Regions from separate parts of the Homo sapiens genome. Here region 2 is linked to region 1. The links are contacts of gene promoters, found by promoter capture Hi-C in human tissues and cell types (Jung and others, 2019). All regions are on one chromosome and are shown on one strand. Each heading gives the region's core, a stretch centred on a gene start or on the middle of the fragment in contact. The rest is flanking DNA. Distances are from core to core; before and after follow the strand shown.

What was found. Contacts are between HindIII fragments. The study calls those that stand out against the background at their distance.
Region 2: a fragment that was not itself captured here is called in contact with the fragment with the promoter of COX6C in region 1 in 3 of the 25 tissues and cell types used here (adrenal gland, bladder and heart right ventricle).

Annotation. Positions count from the first base shown.
Region 1 is chr8:99,892,219-99,895,304 of GRCh38, reverse strand. COX6C (cytochrome c oxidase subunit 6C) reads left to right here and starts at 1,598. Exons shown (of 4, transcript NM_004374.4): 1 at 1,598-1,666. RefSeq lists a silencer at 1,817-1,986 and enhancers at 1,460-2,107, 2,108-2,756. The HindIII fragment of the contact is 7,152 bases long and covers 1-3,086 here.
Region 2 is chr8:99,980,848-99,983,933 of GRCh38, reverse strand. It overlaps RGS22 (regulator of G protein signaling 22), which reads left to right. Exons shown (of 28, transcript NM_015668.5): 22 at 1,818-1,997. Among named protein-coding and RNA genes, the nearest start is that of SNORD77B, 22 kb to the left of the region's middle. The HindIII fragment of the contact is 3,789 bases long and covers 1-3,086 here.

The sequences.
Region 1 (3,086 bases), core at 349-2,848:
AACTTTTTGAGCACTGATGTGATGCTCAAGGAAATGCTCAGTGGAGCATTTTGGATTTCAGATTTTCAGATTGGGATGCTCAACTGGCATGTATTCTGCAAATACTCAAAAATCTGAAAAAATCCAAAATCTGAAACACTTCTGGTCTCAAATATTTCAGATAAGGGATACTCAAGCTGCATATACATTATCCCATTTAATTTACATCACAACCCAACAAAATGGGTACTATTTTTAGAGGAGAAAGCAGACTTAGAAAGATGAAGAAATTTGCCGCTACAAGTTGATGAGCTGGGACTCAAATCCAGGTCTGTTCGGCTCTAGAACAGAACCTATATGTAACATGTCTCTCTTCATCTATCGCTCAGGTTTTATTCACGTGTCACCCTCAGTCATTCACTATGGTTCACTGGATAGCTAGGGAAGCACAGAACAAACACTCAGTATTTCACTCAGGTCAGGCTCTGTGCCCTGAGTGTGCCTGTCTTTGCCATGTTCTCCCAGCCAATGTTTTCTCTCCAATTTCTCCAGTTTTCCAGGCTTTCCATTAGACTGAAACTCAGCTCTGCTTCCATCTCTTCCACGTATTGTCTGAAGCTTTCCCTGATGGTTTCACATACACTAATCCCTGTGAACTCTTAAGTTCACCACTTCTTCTCTGGGGGTGGGGATGGAAAGAGAATAGAAACAAATTACTCTCTGGACAAATTCCATGCAAAGATTTTCAGCTGGGTAGACCCTTGATAAGAGGCCTGAAAAACGTTGGTAAAGTCCAAACCTACTTTTGAACCTCAATTGAGCACCTTTCTTTGTGGCCAGGTTTCACCCTCCAGAGTGTTGGTTAATAGGTTGAGGACAAAGACTCCCTGATCAGAATGAGACTCCCCGAAGATCTGTCCTCTTGTTTAGCAGAATCTGGCACATAGTAGGTACTCAGTGTATATATCGACTCAATATCATGCATCTGTTGTGTCCCAGCTACCTTCCACAGGGCTTGATGGGTTGACTTAAATAATGCTTTTAAAATTCAGGTTATTTCAATACAAACAGCCTGGCATCATTAAGGCACAAGAGCCTCACCCTTCTACACCACTTTCCACGAACTTCCAGTTGCCTTCCTTCAAAATCCTTGTTTTCTTAAGAAACCCACAAAAATACCGCCCCTCTATCAAAACGTCCTCAGCTTTGCCAGGTAGAGAATTGCTTCTGCAGTAGCTGGGCCACGTCTCTGTGGTAGTGCCCACTGCATGGGATCGGTATTAATCTGTTTGTCTTTTTCATCTTCTGGGCTGTGAGCTCCTAGAAGTCAGCTTTTTCACTTTTACCCAAGCCAAACGGTTATTCGCGTAAGGTTGGTTATAATTAAAATGTCGGTTTGTGCACATGGTTTGGGACTCTGTGTATGAGTACGACTAATATCTTCAATTTACTAAGAAGATAAAGAGGTCGATAAATAAGGAGGTCAAGCCCGTTTTGCAAGGTCACACAGGAAAGAAGCAGACCACGAAATGAACTTCGGCTGTCACCTGCGGTGGGCGCACTAGAGGTCTTTTGAACTCCTTCGGCTACCGTCGCCGCGTTCTCGCTGTGCACTCTTATTCTGCGCCTGCGCGCGGCTACAGCACGGTTCGTTTTTCCTTTAGTCAGGAAGGACGTTGGTGTTGAGGTGAGTCCGGTCCCTTTTGCATCCCTACCCCGACACTGCGGGTTGTCACAACGGCACCCTCCCGCTTTCTCTCTGCCTCGGATTTAGTCGTGACTGTGTGTCTCCGCCGTGGTGCAGCTTCAGGCCTCTCCCGCATCTACTCTCTCACGCTTCCGCTGCGGCCTGAGGGAGGGCGGCGGGCGGACCACGGACCGGGGTGGGTTGCGACGGCCCCACCGAAGCCGGGTGGGCTGCGGGACCCTCGAGAACCCAGCTGGCTTCGGAGTGAGCTGGCCCGGGGCTGGTACCCGCTGCGCTTTTTCACAGCCATTGTGACCTTGGTGAGGTCATTTGACCTATCTGGCCCCGGTGTTTCTCCCGTGAGAAAAGGGGTGGTGGTTTCTAATGCAGCTGGTCGTGAGGCGCAAGGGTTAGTGTAGGCGAAGCAGCTGGCAGCGTCGCTCGCTGTGTGGCAGCGTTTTAAATTAGAGCTGGAAAACTGGAGGAGGGTCACCGTACCTGCCGCAGGAGGGGAAGGATGGGCTTCCTGCAACCTCCCTTGCCCCACGGCTTCCCATCCTACCCCCGGCCGCGTTAGCTGAAGGCCAGCAGGGACGCAAAAGTTTTTAGGCCCCTTAGGTCTTTAGGTGAGGCTGGGCAAAGGAGCAGTTAGGGAATTTGGGCCCTCATGGTATTTGCCGCGTTCCCGTCCAGGTTTTAATGGTATACCGTGTGACCGTGGAAAACACCTGCCTCATGATCTGACAGGGTTGTCGCGAAGGTTTAACGAGTGGACAGAAAATTTTTAGAAGAGAAAGTGTTGCATAAATGGGTTTGCAATCGTTAATTACCAATGCGGAGCTACTGCTTATTTTTCTTGTTGTTGGAAAGATTTTTGTTGCCTTTGCTCGTCCATTACTAGTGTGCCGCAGTTTGTCGCGTTTATTTAGGGTGGTCGCTCAGTATATGGGGGGCGGGGGGAAGATGAAACAGGCTAAGCCAAGAGACAGCTTAGGCTTTGTGGGAGGAATCCATCCACTGTCGTGCTGTGCCTCTCTAGGTAGTAAAATGTACTATGCATGAGAATTCCTTTTGATATCTTTTCTGAGTTTTTCTTTTATTATTTTACCCGAGAAAGGGAAAAAAAGCTCAGAGTAGTGAGAGCTACATGAGGTATGCAGGACGCAGAGACCTGAGTATTGGACTTCAGTGCCGCCCCTCACCCATGTCTCAACCCAAATCTTATTCCTGAATTTGTGATATAAAGGACAGCGTTTAGTCAGTCAATAGCTTATGTTATTTTAATGTAAATTTTTGATAAACAGTTTAGGAATTGCCTCTCATTTTTTCTTAACTCACTTGTAGGCCGGAATCCCAGCACTTTGGGAGGACGAGGTAGGATGATCACTTGAGGGCAGGAGTTTAAGACCAGCCTGGGGAG
Region 2 (3,086 bases), core at 349-2,848, 89 kb before region 1:
TATTAAGCTTTTTTCACACTTAACTTATACCAAATTATATATAAAGTTTTACATGAAAGACATCAGAATTTTTGTTTCTTTTGTAATATCCATAGTAGAGCTATTACAATGCCCAGCATATACTGGGTACTTAATAAATGTTGGTTCATTTCTGGGCCTAAAGTGAGAAGTTTCCAAATTTGCTTTCTGATGATTTGGAAAATAATGACTTTGACAGAGAAATGCCATAATTTGAGCTAAACTACCTCTTTATTTTAAAAAATGATAGTCCTACACCTGTGACTTTAAAACTAGCTCATTTTGGGCAAAGGACATGAACGGATACTTCTCAAAAGGTATATAAATGGCCAAGAAACATGAAGAAATGCTCAGCATCACTAATCATCAGAGAAATGCAAATCAAAACCACAGTGAGATACCATCTCACACCAATCAGAATGGCTATTATTAAACGGTCAGAAAATAACAGCTGCTTGGTGAGGCTGCAGAGAAAAGGGGGCACTTGCACACTATTGGTGGGAATGTAAATTAGTCCAGCCACTGTGGAAAGCAGTCTGGAGATTTCTCAAAGAAATTAAAACAGAGCTACCATTTGACCCAGCCATCCCATTACTGGATGTATACCCCAAGGAGAATAAATAATTCTGCCAAAAAGATAAATGTACACATATGTTCATCACTGCACTATTCACAATAGCAAAGACATGGAATCAACCCAGGTGCCCATCAGTAGTAGATTGATAAAGAAAATGTGGTACATATACACCGTGGAAGACTACATAGCCATAAAAAAATGAAATCATGTCCTTTGCAGCAGTGTGGGTGGAGCTGGAGGCCATTATCCTAAGAGAATTAATGCAGGAAAAGAAAACCAAAATCCACACGTTCTCACTTATAAGTGGGAGCTCAACATTGGGCACACATGGACATAAATATGGGAATAATAGACACTGCTGACTACTAGAACAGGTAGTGAGGGGAGGGTGGGTTGAAAACCTACCTGTTGGGTACTACGCTCTACCTAAGTGACAGGATCTGTACCCCAAACCTCAGCATCACGTAATATTCCCATACAACAAACTTGCACATGTACCCCCGTGTCTAAAATAAATGTTGACAATTTTTTAAGTGGCTCATTTTAATGTGTGATCATTAATTTTAGGTTATCTATAAAGAGGATAATACAATAGGGTAACTACACAACATAGATAATAAAAGATATAGAATGGCACACCTGTTGACAACCAGCATGCCCAGTACCTTTTTGAGCCTAAATCACCTTGGCGTAGAAGCAGGACTGGACGGGAAAGCTTTTATATCCACCTGTAGGTGGAGTTAGGTGCCTATTCTCAATGTTCTCCTAGGATACTATGTATACCTCTATCATAACATTTATTAACTATCCAAAATAGGAGCAACATGTTCTCACACTTCTCCTCCAGTGGAGATTGAACCTTAAAAGGGTAGGGCCTGTGTCTTGAGGCTCAGCTCAGTGTCTGGTATATAACAGGCCCTCATTATACGGTTGTTAAATGAGTCAAAGTAGATACTAATGTCATTCCTTTGCCTAGAGGAATAAGTGATCAGGATTATATGAAATCTGTATTTATGTAATGTAGATGTATCAAAGTCTTAGGTTCCTCAAATCCAAGAGAAAGAAAATCTGTAATTTTTTAAAGACAGCCTTGAAATATCCCACTGCCTTCTTGACCTAAAGTTGAAATGCATATATTAATTGAAACACATATTGATACAGTTCTATTAAGTGTTCTGGTAATGCATTAATTATATACCATTCTATCTTTCCTTCTGTTCAGGACTTGTGCCATTCTCATTGTGATGAGTCTGTCATCCAGAAGAAGATTACAACTATTATCAACTGCTTTATTAATTCCAGTATTCCACCAGCTTTACAAATTGACATTCCAGTAGAGCAAGCCCAGAAGATTATTGAACACCGGAAGGAGTTAGGACCATATGTATTTAGAGAGGCACAGGTAAGAGATCAGGGCATGTGGCTAAGCATATTTTAAAATAGATTGACAATCCTTTTAAAGATAGATATCCTTTTGGGCCAGGCGTGGTGGCTCACGCCTGTAATCCCAGCACTTTGGGAGGCTGAGGCAGGCAGATTGTTTGAGCTCAGGAGTTTGAGACCAGCCTGGGCAACATAGTGAAACCCCGTCTCTTAAAAAAAAAAAAAAAAAAACCTAAAAAAAAGTAAATAAAAATTAAAAAGATAGATATCCTTTTAAAGCTTGTACGTTATTCATATTTGACAAGGTTCCAGTCCTCCCAATACTGGGACTTATTCTATTTAATTTAAATAATCTTTGCATATGTGACTGAAATATAAAAAGCTAGTAACTTAAATGCAGTTTTTTTCGTGATCATATACAGTAAATAAAATTAAATATTACCTTTTGGCTTTCCATGGTTACCATTTTTGTTTTTAACTTGTTAACCTCCAGCTAATTCCTCCTTTCTTTTCCACTATTGGTAATTCCTTTTAAAATATCTGCTACCACAAAAATGTGTAAAATATGTGTGTCCCAAGATTTGTGTATTTTTAAAGATTGGAATATTCACATAGCTCATAAAATAAGTGAGAAGAGATTTAAGAACTCTACCAACATAAAGTATACAAACTCATGAAAGGAAAATTGTGCCTGTTAACCTGCTCAAGTTACTTCTTTTTAAGATAAATAATAGAAAACAGTGACTTGGTGAACATAATTTATTTGCATTTTAAAAAGCCTTTTAGTGATGTTGTTACTAAAAAATGATTAAGAAAAATAAATTATAATAGGGGTAATAGGGAAGGCCATGTCATGAATGAAGTGATATGAAACAGAGACTTAGGGTATTATTGCCCTTGAGCATGGAAAAAGGCGATTATTCTTAGATTCATTTGAGAGCCAGCTGTGTTCTAAGTCCTCTAAGGAACTAAAAGTGGACTCACAATCCAAATTATGCATTAAAATAGGCAGAAATATAGAGGAATGATTGAGGACGTGCTATAGAGAAACATGGTGTCAGAATGGTAATATCTGTTAATGAAAAGATCTTAGAGATAGCTTAACCTA